5 separate regions of the Homo sapiens genome follow, and all the other regions are linked to region 1. The links are contacts of gene promoters, found by promoter capture Hi-C in blood cells and fetal thymus (Javierre and others, 2016). All regions are on one chromosome and are shown on one strand. Each heading gives the region's core, a stretch centred on a gene start or on the middle of the fragment in contact. The rest is flanking DNA. Distances are from core to core; before and after follow the strand shown.

Region 1 (2,618 bases), core at 43-2,542:
GGGGTCCCAGAGTGTGGTCTGGAGTGGGCACTGCTGATGGCCCTGCCCTTCCCGACATGGCAGAAAGAATACACATGCTTGATTTTGAATAAAGGAGATTGAAGTAAGCCATCGTGTGTGACCCACAAGTCCAAGTGGGAAGAACATATCAGGGGTGACGCCAACCCTGATGGCGAAAGGGGGAGGGCCCCTCACGTTTCACACTGAACCTCAGCTTTGGAGGGCTCGGAAAGCAGAGACGGGGAGGGGCTGCCCTGCTGGAACCCTGCTTCATGGTCCACCTGAACATCCACACTCTTCACGGTCACCTGCCAGGCACTCTAGAGCCAGCCTGGCCCACCTGGGCCACCTTCTGCGCTCCTGGAGGCATGCCTAAGCCAGCCGCACTGGGCTTCTGCTGCCACACATTGCCAAACCAGGGCCTTTGCACCTGCTGTTCCCTCTGCCAGGATTGCCTTTGCCAGCTCCACAGGAATAGGCATGGCTCAGGTGGTCTCCCACAAGCAGCCCAAGATCCAGGATGTCTGAGGCCTGACACCACACCCAACCCTTTGGTGGCTGCCTGGGCAGGGGGCTAAGCCTGGGTTGGGTGGGGTCAGAGGGAGAGAAAGAGCCCGGATCACAGCTCTGGGCCTGCTGCAAGTGGAGCTGGGTGGGAAGGGGAAGCCAGGAGAAGGGAGGCCTCCAGGTGTGGTGGGCCCTGCAGACAGACCCCAGGGCTTTCCATCCTGTTTCCCCCAGCCGGGGGCCCCTCAGTGAGAACCGAAGACAACAAGGGCACCCAGACCTCAGTGTGCCTCAGACGGCCTGGCCCAGTGAGAGACAGGGAAAGAAGGCTGGGTCCACACAGGACTCTGGGGGTGAGTGGGTTACGGGAGGGGCGGGCCGGGGAGGCGTTTTGCTGTTTGCCCTTTGGTACCGGCCGAATCCGGCACCCTGAGAAGGCAAAATCCTGCTCAAAAAATAAAAACACAGAAGCACATGGAAAAACCACACTAGGAGTGAAGGTGAGAACAGGAAGGGATGGGGGAAGGGTGTTGGGCAGAGGTAGCCACGCGTGCAACGCCCCGGAGTAGCAACACTTTCCGCTCAGCCGGCTGCCTTGGCCCGCTGGGTATTTGGTCTCCCCAAGGGCCCCCGCCCACAGCCCCCGGCCGGACCTCGGCCCCAGTCCAACGTGTGGGCGTGGTCTGTAAGTTGCATGGAACCGCCCCTGGGCGGGCGTGGAGGGCGGGGCCTCCCCGCCCCTCACCCAGGCCCAGGCCCAGGCCCCGCCCCCACAAGCCGGGCTCACTCCCCTGGCAGACCCCGCCAAGCGCCTCGGAGCGCGCAGGATGCGCTGGGCGGCCGCCACCCTCCGTGGCAAGGCGAGGCCCCGGGGGCGGGCCGGGGTCACCACGCCTGCCCCAGGGAACCGCACAGGTGAGGGCTGGGGCCGAGTGGCCGCGTGCGGGGCTCTGCGCCCATTTCACAGACGGGAAAGCCGAGGGGAGGGGGTCGCGGGGCCGCACAGCCGTGGGTGGGGGCCACAGCAACGATCTGCCCCGAGGACGAACCTCCTCGACCCTCCGCCGGCCCAGCAGGCGCCCTAGCGGAGCCGAAGCCTGGCAGCGAGCAGTTCGAAACCAGGCGGCTGCACGCAGCAGCCCGCGCGCCCGTTCCCGAGTGGCCGCAGCGCCTTGGTCCCGGGCGTCTGCGGACAGCGCGGCCGGCCAAGCCTCTCCACGCCGCAGGCTCCGGGCCCCTCCGCGCCCCTCCCGGGGAAGTCGAAACCGGCCTCACCTGGCGGGCGGGTGGCGCGGGGGCGGGAGGGGGGAGCCGGGAGCCCTCTCTGCGCCTGAGGGAGGTGTCATCTTCACGATTCCTTGGTGACCAGCGCAGCTCCACTTTACAGATGGAGAAACTGAGCCTGCGAGAGGGGAGTGGCTGTCCGAGGTCACCCTGTAGCCAGGCTTGGGATCGCCTCGGCTGTCTCGGAGGAGGCTCAGAGGCCTTTGGAAGGAAGAGAAGCTGCTTTTTATTTTACTTTTAAGTGTTTGAATTCAAGAATGTGCTTAAAGAGTTGTCTGCTCCCGTGCCCAAGGCTCCGGGGTTCGAATGCTGGCCTTGCTCCTTGAATGATTCTAAAGTCTAACCCTTTTAGAAACGGAACCAAACCGGAACTCTGGGTCTCAGATATCCCAAAAGCTTACTTCCGCGGCCACTGCCCACGAACGTTAGGCCTGAGGGTTCTGGGCGTCTCAGGCGTTGCGGGGCTAAGGCTCTGCGCAGGAGGAAGCTGAGGCCCGGAGTGGGGTGGGCTGGACCAGGTCACACTGTCAGCCTGCAGCCCCAGGGAACTGGCAGGAAGGTGGCAGGAGAATGGCTTCCTCTCACAGTTGGGGAAACTGCGGCTCAGGGAGCTAATTCACCGAGCAGAGGTCCGCAGCTCAGCAAAGTGGGCGCTGAGACTTGTTCCTGGCGCTGGTGGATTTGGTTTATTTAGTTTGACTCTGGCAGCCTAATGTCCAGAGTCCCTAATTTGGTGTTGGGGTGATGAGCACTTTTGCTCCTGTGTTTGAGCAAGGCCTGCCCAGGGCCTGGTACTACCTGAGGAGCCCCTTCTACTGGCACAACAG
Region 2 (2,618 bases), core at 70-2,569, 250 kb after region 1:
GAAGGATCCTGGCCTCTGTGAAGGTCAGAGAAGATGAAACGGCCCCAGGCAGGGTGGGTTGAGGCCAGGCCAGAGGATGGGCTGCGGGTGCCCAGGTGGCTGTGCCCAGGGATAGAGCAGGGCAGTGCAGCAGGCACCTCCAGAGGCCCGAGCTGACTCAAGGTGCAGGACAGGGAATAAAGCAGTGGAGGCTGGGAGCAGCAGGTGGACAGACCCCTAGGGAGTGCAAGGCCCTGCTTAGAACCCCTGTGAGCTGGGCCCCTTGGCATAGACTTCTCACCCAGCTTGCAGATGCCCCCTTGTGGTCAGCAGTTGCTGTGGGGAGCTCACATGACCCAGTGCCCCAGAGCAGTCTCCCTTTTTTTTTTTGAGACAAAGTCTGGCTCTGTTACCCAGACTGGAGTGCAGCGGCAAGATCTCAGCTCACTGCAACCTCCGCTTCCCTGACTCAAGCAATCTTCCCACCTCAGCCTCCCAAGTAGCTGGGACCACAGGTCTGCACCACCACACCCAGCTACTTTTTTGTATTTTTAGTAGAGACAGGGTCTCACCATGTTGCCTAGGCTGGTCTAGACCTCCTGGGCTCAAGCAGTCCACCCACGTTGGCCTCCCAAAGTGCTGGGATTACAGGTGGGAGCCACCACACCTGGCCCAGTGCATTCTAAGGGATGTTGGCCTTGGAGCCAGGGAGGAGGGTCAGGTGCAGATGCTGAGATGGCACCTCTGGTCGTGGTTCTGTTGGTTCTGCTTGTCAGAAGCTGGGGTCCTTCTGGATCTTCCCACCTGACCGGGCATGTTCTGGCACCCTGTGGGCCTTTCTCTCTGCACGCTGGTATCTCTTTGGGTTTTCTCCACATTGGCTGTTGGCTGCAGCATGTTTGGCTCAGGGACCCTCCGGTGTCACTGCACGATGCCTTCTAGGCCTTCTCCCACCGTGGAATGCTTTCATCCCTCCCGGTGGGGAGAGAGTGCATGCTCAGCGAGGCTCTTTGCAGCAGGTGTTCAGGAGGCCTCGGGGTGGAGGGCATCCAGAGAGGAGGGCCCCCACCCTGCACTGCGCCCACCAGGCCCTGACCTCTGCAGCCAGGGTGGTCAGTGCTGCGTACCACTGTGGGCTGTCTGTGGAGCAGGCCTGTGTGCAATGGGGCCTAGTGCAATGTGGGGTCATTTAGCTCAAGGCAACATGAAAACAGCCCCAGGTCTCCCTGGGCAGAGCCAAGGCAGATCCTGCTTCCCAATGCATGCTTTGTGGACAGTTTTTGGCTCAAGAACATGGTTGTTCAATACGTAGACACCTTAAAAGGGGTTTTGTCCCTGGATGCCCATTTTTCTCCTGTGCCAGAAAAGGGAGCCAGTGCTGACCATGGCGGGGGCTGACCCACCTGAGGGTGCGCGGGAAGTTGTGGGGGACTGAGGTGAAGCCGCCAGGGCACCCATGATGGGAGGTGGGCTGCCCCAGCTGTCCCGTGGGCTCCTGGGCAGTATTGAGCCCTGTGAGGTGAAAAGCGAATGTGGGGATTGCTCAGGGGCTGACCACTTTTTAGTCCCCCTGTCCCAGGCACACACCCTCAGTTTGAATCCTTCTTGGTTGAGATGTCTTCTTGGCCACAGGCTGAGGGTCTGGATGGGGCAGGTGCTCGGGCTACCCAGAGGGCAGGGCCGTTGACCCAAGAGCAGGCTGTTTTTGTGCCATGGCTGGAGTGGGGAGGGAGCCTCCACTTGCGCCTGGGGGGCTTCAGCTGATGTCGGCTGCACAAAAGCAGGAGATGCCAAGTCCAAGAGCCGGCCCTCCTGTCGTCCTGTGTGCTGCCACTTTTACATTCTGGGAAGAAAGCAGCGGATCCCCCAACAGCTGGGATGAGGCTGCCAAGCCCCCGCCCCAGCACCACTGAGCAGTCCAGGGCCTTGGCGCCGCCTCTTCCTGGGCCTGGCTGGGGATGGAAGCCCCACAGGGAGACCGAGGTGGGCCTGGCGTCAATTGGCAGCCTCCTGAAAGTTTCCTTTGTTCTCCCGTTGCTGCCTTATGGACAGGAGGTGGGGGTGCTTTTCCTGGCACAGAGCGAGTGGCAGGGGGCCAGGTGGGGGCTGTCTTTGGGTGCCATCTGCATGGTGGGCAAGTGAGGGGCAGGGCCCAATCGAGGCCGAGGCTCTGGAGAGGTGGACTAAGGAGCCACCTAAGGACGGGCAGGGCTGTCCAGAGTGTGGGGAGGTCTCTGCCCCAGCCCAGTTGTCTGCAGTGAGTGGCGTCCGACAGCATGGCCTTGAAAGACTGGCACCCATCAGTTTGTCTGGAGGTCTAGGAGCCGTCTGCACACTGGTCACTGGGGCCCAAGTTTAGGAGGGGCCCAAGTTTAGGAAGGGCCCGTGGAGGCCTCCGTGGGCCAGGGTTGCTCCCTGGCTCTGAGCAGGTGCCGTGTCCTCCAGACACTCCAGACCCCAGGTTCCCAGGACAGTGAGTGAGTCCCAGCTCTGATCGCAGGTCCAGGCTCCCTCTGGTGGTTCCCAGCCGGCAGCCGGCCTGTTTGATGGTGTTCTTCCCAGCATGGCAACAGCCAGGAATTAGCACTGAATGTAGAGTTCCAGCCACACCAAGAGCTGCCAGATAGACACAGAGCAGC
Region 3 (2,618 bases), core at 37-2,536, 220 kb after region 1:
ATTGTAGCAGTTATACCTAAATAAAGCTATTAAGATCCAAACAGCAGTAACAGAGCATGTCAGCAGAGGTTCCCAATGGTGGAGTTATCAGACTGAGAACTAAGTTTGCCTACTGCATTAAAAGAAACAAATGACTAGATTGAAATTTTTGTCAAAGAATTAGAAACTATGCCAAAAAAAAAGCTAAATGGAAGTTGTAGAACTGAAAAATACATTAGTTAAAATTAAGACATCAGAGGATGGATTGTACACTGCCAGAGAGAGAATCGGCAAGCTCTAAAGAAACTAAAGTAAAATAAGGATAATGAAAACAGTAGAAAATAGAAAAGAGGTGCTAAGAAATATAGAGATTACAGTGAGATGGTCAAACATCATGTAATTGGAGTCCCAGAAAACAAGAGAATGCAGCAAAAACAAGTTTGAAGAGATAATGCAGAGAATTGGAAGGCATGAAGCCACTAATTCAAGAAACTTCCAAACTCTGTAAGTTAAAAAAGAAATCTGCACTTACATATATCATAAAGTGCTGAAAATCAAAGGCACATGGGAAAATTTAAAGGATGCCCAAGAAAAAACAGGTCCTTTAAAGGTTTGGAAGCCCCTGTCTCAGTACAGATAACATATGCCAGTGGACAAGGAATAGTGCTGTCCTCGCAGTGCTGAAGGAAATAAGCCCCAACCTCAAATATCGGTAAAAGGATCTGACTTCCATGAAGATGAAATGAAGAGAAAAGCAGTCATCACCTTCACAGCTCAATTAAAGAAATACTAAAGGGAATATTTTTAGACAGAAGAACAATGACTGCAGATGAAAGGCCAGAATGCAGGTAGGAACAAAAACTGATGGAATTATAAATGTATGAGTAGATCTAAGTGAATTTTGACTGGATGAAAAAATAATGTCTTGAGGTTTAAAATGTTTGGCATGTTAAAATGCATGAAAATGGGGCATATTTATCAGGAGGCAGGAAATGCATTTAAAGGGCTCCAGGATTCCATGTTGCCTAGGCAGAGAGCCAAATCAAGAATGCAAATGATAGTCTCTAGAATAACCCCTGTGAGACTCGTAGAATAGCAGATAACCTCCACACTTGTGGAGGGGGCAGGTGGGGAAGGAATTTTTTAAAATATGGCAAAGAAGGAAAGAAACAGCAACACTGAACATGGAGAACACATAGAAATCTTTAGTAAGATGCTAGTTTTAACCCAAGTAGATCAGTAATTAAATGTAAATGGACTAAATCTCAAAGATTCTCAAAAGTGAAAAAAAAAAAACAGAACAAAGACATAAGATTATAAAAAGATTAAGAGTAAAAAACAAAAATGGAAAAAGAGCACACTAATACTCACCTAGAGGAAGCTAATGTCTATATTTTTATATCAATGTAGATTTTAAGGCAAAAACATAATGGTGAAAGATTCAACTGGCCAGGAAGATATAATAATTTAATGTTTGCTTATATTTAGTAATAAGCCCTCAAAATGCATAAAATAAAAATTAACACAACTAAAACAAATGGAGCAATTTACAATCATGGGAGATTTCAGCTTTTGGAATAGGAGACACTCAGTAGGGATAGAGAAAATTTCAACCACAGAATTAGTATCTTATATATACAGGACACTGTACTCAGTAGCTGAAGAATGCACTGTTTTTTCATGCACACAGAATATTTTTAATTTAACTTTACGCAGACCCAAAACAAATCTCAACAAGTTTCAAAGAATCAAAATCACTTGATGCATGCTTTTGATTAAAGTTGGAAGTAAACCCAAGCTCATTAACTAGAAGATAACTAGAAAATATCCACATTTGATAGTTAAGCAGTGCATTTATAAATATCTCATTCGGCAAAGAAGAAATTACAATGGAAACTAATAAAACATTCTGAATGATGATATGAACATCATGCTAATGAAAATATTACGTATCAAAATTTGTGAAATGCAGTTAACAGCATATTGAGCAGAAACTTTGTAGCCTTTAAATGCATATATTGGACAGGAGAAAAGTCTGATAGTAATAAAAGTATGTAGTGCAAAAAGTTAGCATAAGAGAAAATGGAACCCAAATAAAGAAAGGAGAAAGTAAAATAGATAAGAACATAAATTAATGAAATAGTAAACAAATATACAATAGGGTATCAACAGAGCTTAGCAACGGTTCTTTGAAATGGCTCATAGCATTAGTAAGCCCCCTGTGATGAGACTGACTAAAGGAGAGAGAAAGACATAAGTAATCAATATTAGGGATGAAAAGGGGGAGACACTGCTACAGTCCTACAAACATTAAGACAAATATAAGAATTTGAAAATTTCTTTGGATTATGTCTTAGGGAACTACAACTTACCAAACTTAAGAAGAAATAGAAAATCTGAAAGGTGCTATAAACATTAAAAAGTCAAATCAGTCATTAGAAGCCTTCTCATGTCTACCCTTCATGGTGACAAGATTGCTGGAACAACTCAGTGTGTATAGTCTTTCAGGTAGAAAATAGAGACCCTTTTTGAAAGGTTTCATACATCTGGCCCTGACTCCCATTATGCAGAACAAGGACACATTCTCTAAAGCAGTTGTGGCTGGTGGCTGGAATGTACACTGACTTGTGCCCAAATTG
Region 4 (2,618 bases), core at 75-2,574, 210 kb before region 1:
AAATACTAAAGGGTGTTCCTCAGTAAGAAGCAAAATAATTCTAGAGGAAAACTTAAAGGACAGGAAGGAATAAAAAAGTAATTAAAATGATAAATATGTGGGTTAATTTAAATGGATATTGACTCAAATAATGATTGGCTATGTTCACCATGTACAGAATCCAAATATACAAAATTAATACCATATAAGAGACAAATAAATGAAATTATAATGTTATAACTTCTCCCCTTGTCCAGAAATGTTAGTACTAATTTACATTAGCTTTTAATCCATATGTATATTAGTATCTGACATAGTACATTTAAGGCAAAAAATTACTAGAGATAAAAAGAAACATCTAATAATGATAATGTGTCAATTAACCAGGAAGATTACAACAATTCTAAATTGTATGTAAAATCAAAGACAAAATATATAAAGCAAAAATTAGTAGCTCTAAAGGAGACAAATTCACAATTATTTGTAAAATTACAACACAGTTCTTTCAGTATTTGATAGAAGAAAAGACAAAAAAGTCTATTCAAATACAGAGAATTTGAAAAACAAAATTAATTAAGATTAGTTTGTAGAGATTGTGAGGAGATAAAAGGAGAAGTCTTCCAAATGTTCAACTACATTTTATCTTCTAAGGACACAAACTAAAATTCAAGATGCTTGTGTCTCATGGTAATCTAGCAAGTAACGAACATGTAGAGAATGTACTAACAAAATTAGTGGGAAAAAATTTTAGGATTTGATATCCATTTTCTTAATTTGTCCTATTTTTCAAACAGGAGTTGGTAACAACAACATCAAAAAAGTGCAGGTTTCTGTGGTGAAAGCTGAGGATCTAAAGTGCTGCTATCTAGACCTGGGTCCCTGTATCTAAGTTCCATGATCGTAGGGCCAGTTCTAAGGTAATAATATAGACTTTTGAGAAATAGGCAAAGAGCAATTTCAGACCTCTTGGCTAACTGCTGCCCCAGCATACGCCAACAGATATAACAATAAATAATGGTGACTTCCCAAAGAAAATTTTAAAAAAAGTAGAGTCCTTTCTTTCTGTCTTTAGTGTTTTCACAAAAACTGCTGATTCACTTTCATTATAGACCTAAATTGCCCTCTCTTTGCCTTGATCTCAGTGTCCTTAGGCTGCTTAGACAATGTAAAATTATCTCATCATACTACTCATTATGAATTTTTGCGGGTCAATATTGAATAGTTGTGGTACCCAGAACATGAAAAACTCAACAGCCATGAATTTATAAAACTGTTTGCCCAAAAAGTGAAACAAGAAAGACTGCCAATCATCTCCTTGCACATTTACTATTATTTGCAGGAGCTTGACAACACCAATATCAAGTAACCAAAGATGGCCACTATACATTGCTTAAACACTCTCAAAAGTGTCTCCCCATATGTGTAACTACACATCAGCTATATGATCCAGATGTTCATAATTCTAACTAGATAGAAGAAAGTTGGCCTTGGTCACCTTCTGAGTCCCCACACCATAATTGTGGCATGGAGCACTCTACTTCCCCATTGTCAGATTTCTGAGGCATACTGAGTTGTGGCTTCCAGTTTAAGGCTTTCCCCAAGTCACTGCACTTATAGGGTTTCTGTTTAGTATGAATTTTCTGGTGTTTAATAAGATTTGATCTGATGGTGAAGGCCTTTCCACACTCAGCACATATATATGGTTTCTCTCCTGTGTGAATTCGATGATGCTCATGGAGTTGTGATTTCTTAATGAAAGACTTGCCACAGTCACTGCATTCATAGGGTTTCTCTCCAGTATGAATTCTCCTGTGTCTATTTAAGTGTGACTTCTGGATGAAGGATTTCCCACATTCATTACAAATATAGGGTTTCTCTCCTGTATGAATTCTCTGATGCATAATTAGTGTTGATTTTCTTGCAAAGGCTTTCCCACATTCACTGCACTCATAATGCCTTTCTCCAGTATGGGATTGCTGATGTATATGGAGACCTGACTTCCTAGTGAAGGCTTTCCCACAGTCACTACATTTATAAGGTTTCTCTCCAGTGTGAATTTTCTGGTGTGTAAAGAGATTTGATCTGTCAGTAAAAGCCTTTCCACATTCAGCACACCTATAGGGTTTCTCTCCTGTGTGAATCTGCTGATGTACGTGGAGCTGTGATTTCTTAGTGAAGGATTTCCCACAAATACTGCATTCATAGGGTTTCTCTCCAGTATGAATTCTCTCATGTGTAATAAAATGGGATTTGTGGAAGAAGGCCTTACCACATTCAGTGCAAACATATGGTTTTTCCCCTCTATGAATTCTCTGGTGCATACTTAATGTTGACTTCTGAATGAATGCTTTCCCACATTCACTGCATTCATAATGTCTCTCTCCAGTATGACACTTCTGATGTATCCTGAGCCGAGACTTCCAGGTGAATGATTTTCCACAGTCGCTGCATTTATAAGGTTTCTCTCCAGTATGAATTTTTTGGTGCTTAATGAGATTTGACCTGTCAGTAAAGGCCTTACCACACACAGTACATATATAGGGTCTTTCTCCTGTATGAATTTTCTGGTGTATAATGAGATTTGTCTTGTGAGTGAAGACCTTCCCACATTCTGAACATATAAAGGGATTCTCTCCTGT
Region 5 (2,618 bases), core at 88-2,587, 200 kb before region 1:
TATTAAGCATAATTACTTAGGTAATTCTTAGGAATTACCTGCCATATATTTACTAAGCAAGATGTTGAGAACTTTATGTTGTGAACATCTTCACAACTTTACACAATATGCTTCAAGACATCAAAGAACTTACAACAACTTTCTAAGATATTATAAAGGGCATAAGAGATGTGCAAAGCATAGCATGACCCCAAATAGAGAGAAGAAAATTCTACATGGAGTGTAAGACTAAGTTCTGTAGAGTTGATGAAACTTAAGCTTAGTCTTGGGAGATGCCATGTTTAATGCAAGCAGAGTAGGGCAAAGTGATTTTTAGAAGGGAGCAGCATGAGCAAAGGTATAAAGACAGGAAAATACATGATAAATTCAGGGAACCACAAATTAGTCTGCATAATGAGAAGTCTGTATGCAGTGAAGGAAAGGTGTTTATGAGGAAATTTCAGTAGAGGTATGCTGGCATGAGATCATGCAACTATTTTTCCTCCAATACATAATGGACTGCCATTAAAGTAATTTATATATAGAGAAAAGATTATTAGATTTATGTTTACAACTGCCAAGAAGATGCTGGCCAGGTTGTGGAGAAATAGGAACGCTTTTACACTGTTAGTGGGAATGTAAATTTGTTCAACCATTGTGGAAGACAGTGTGGTGATTCCTCAAAGATTTAGAAGTGGAAATACCATTTGACCCAGCAATCCCATTACTGGTTATATACCCAAAGGAATATAAATCATTCTGTTATAAAGATACACGCATGCATATGTTCATTGTGGCACTATTCACAATAGCAAAGACATGGAATCAACCCAAATGCCCATCAGTGATAGACTGGCTAAAGAAAATGTGGCACATATACATCATGGAATACTATGCAGCCATAAAAAGGAATGAGATCATATCCTTTGCAGGGACATGCAGGGAGCTGGAAGCCATTATCCTCAGCAAACTAATGCAGGAACAGAAAACCAAACGCTACATGTTCTTACTTATAAGTGGGAGCTGAACAATGTGAACACATGGACACAGGGAAGGGAACAACACTCACTGGGGCCTGTTGGGGAAGGGTGGGGGGTGGGAGAGCATTAGGGAAAAAAGCTAATGCATGCTGGGCTTAATACCTAGGTGATGGCTTGATAGGTGCAGCAAACCATCATGACACACATTTACCTATGCAACAAACCTGCACATCCTGCACATGTACCCTAGAACTTAAAATAAAAAATAAAAAAAGACTATCAAGAAACAGCAGGGAGAATACATTTGAATGAGCAAGAGTGGAAGTCTAGGCAATATTTCATGTGAAAGAATTAAAACACCTTAGTTAGGGAGAAAATATTATTTAACAGGAATATAGAAAAAGAAATTGGTGTAGATAGTAGGTAATTAGAATTGATAGATGGAGTAAGAAAAAGGAGGAACTAAAGTGAAATTCTCAATTATTCGTTTTGTATACTCTGAGATTATAGTGTCATATACTGAAGTAGAGATTGATGAATGGAAAAGGTTGGAGAAAGGGAACCAGATGAAATCACTTATGTTTTGCACATATTGAGATTACAGGGATTAAACATGTAGGCAGGCATATTATAGGACGTTAGGCAGAGGCCTAGAGTGGAGATAAAGATTTGGGAGTCACCAGTAGATAATTAATAACTAAAATCATCTGAGTAAATGAGACTGCTTGAGAGGACACCTGATAAAGGAGAATGTAAAGGAAAGAATCTGAAAAAGTTACCAGCATTGAAGAAGAGGTGTCAGCAATAAAAACTGAGAAATCGGACAGAGCCAGGAGAGAGTAACGTCTTAGAATGTATGTGGGGATTAGTTGATGGGGTTGAATGCCAAGATGGATGAAAAAAGCAAAAGACAGATAAATTCTGGCTTTTGTATTTAGGAGATGTGACAGTGATAGCTAGTTGTCTTCCAACATTCACTCATCCTTTCTTCCCTAATAACAGAACATGAATTCTTAGCTGGCTACTCTGAGTAAGACTTTCTTTTCCCAGCCCACCTTAAATGTAACCAGGAAACTATACTTTGGCCACAGAGATACAGGCGATACTTCTGAGATGTCAGTTTTTAAAGGAGAAGGTGTGAGTGCCCCTTTCCTCCCCAACCTCACCATGCTGCTGGCCTGGAACGCTGACTCAGTTAATGCAACCCCAGCAAATCTCGGGAACTATCAAGTGACGTGAGGTTGAAAATCACAAAATGAGAATGACATAGAGAACAACAACAAAAAAAAAAGGTGTATAAATTTGTGAAGACATCAGGCCCTGAATGAATACTTTCAGACTTCTTTTGCTTCTTTTGTGTTTAAGCCCGTAATTCTTAGATTTCTGTTATACTAAAATGCATTTTGCCAGACAATTCTAATAAAATAGATAGAAACTGGGTTGCAATTACAGACTCTTAAGCTTTTAAGCAAAAAATTCAGTACCACGTAATAGCAAAAAGATCAGTACTTCAGGAAAATATAATTCATATTTTGAATGACAATCTAAAATACATAAAACAAAAGTTGACAAAATTACATGGAGAAATTGATAAACCTACACACGCATGGGAGACTTCCCAACTCCCCCTCCCTACTCTGAGAGATTTTAACCAGATTA

The links. The method cuts DNA at HindIII sites, captures the fragments that hold promoters and counts their contacts. A CHiCAGO score of 5 or more calls a contact.
Region 2: a contact is called between a fragment that was not itself captured here and the fragment with the promoter of SUSD3 in region 1, in 4 of 17 cell types (total CD8 T cells, naive CD4 T cells, neutrophils and 1 more). The highest score is 5.8, in total CD8 T cells.
Region 3: a fragment that was not itself captured here is called in contact with the fragment with the promoter of SUSD3 in region 1 in 1 of 17 cell types (neutrophils); the score reaches 6.3 in neutrophils.
Region 4: a fragment that was not itself captured here is called in contact with the fragment with the promoter of SUSD3 in region 1 in 4 of 17 cell types (non-activated CD4 T cells, naive CD4 T cells, activated CD4 T cells and 1 more); the score reaches 7.6 in non-activated CD4 T cells.
Region 5: a fragment that was not itself captured here is called in contact with the fragment with the promoter of SUSD3 in region 1 in 5 of 17 cell types (naive CD4 T cells, non-activated CD4 T cells, total CD4 T cells and 2 more); the score reaches 8.9 in naive CD4 T cells.

What each region holds. Positions count from the first base shown.
Region 1 is chr9:93,057,409-93,060,026 of GRCh38, forward strand. SUSD3 (sushi domain containing 3) reads left to right here and starts at 1,293. Exons shown (of 5, transcript NM_145006.4): 1 at 1,293-1,422. The coding sequence starts at 1,335. RefSeq lists silencers at 1,008-1,457, 1,468-1,877 and enhancers at 1,388-2,368, 2,369-2,618. The HindIII fragment of the contact is 6,174 bases long and covers 1-2,185 here.
Region 2 is chr9:93,302,568-93,305,185 of GRCh38, forward strand. The region is part of intron 26 of WNK2 (WNK lysine deficient protein kinase 2); the gene reads left to right. Among named protein-coding and RNA genes, the nearest start is that of WNK2, 120 kb to the left of the region's middle. The HindIII fragment of the contact is 5,309 bases long and covers 1-2,618 here.
Region 3 is chr9:93,281,201-93,283,818 of GRCh38, forward strand. The region is part of intron 19 of WNK2 (WNK lysine deficient protein kinase 2); the gene reads left to right. Among named protein-coding and RNA genes, the nearest start is that of WNK2, 98 kb to the left of the region's middle. The HindIII fragment of the contact is 3,407 bases long and covers 1-2,618 here.
Region 4 is chr9:92,844,783-92,847,400 of GRCh38, forward strand. ZNF484 (zinc finger protein 484) reads right to left here. Exons shown (of 5, transcript NM_031486.4): 5 at 1-2,618. The coding sequence ends at 1,446. Among named protein-coding and RNA genes, the nearest start is that of ZNF484, 32 kb to the right of the region's middle. The HindIII fragment of the contact is 3,007 bases long and covers 1-2,618 here.
Region 5 is chr9:92,862,206-92,864,823 of GRCh38, forward strand. All of the region lies in intron 2 of ZNF484 (zinc finger protein 484), which reads right to left. Among named protein-coding and RNA genes, the nearest start is that of ZNF484, 15 kb to the right of the region's middle. The HindIII fragment of the contact is 2,162 bases long and covers 257-2,418 here.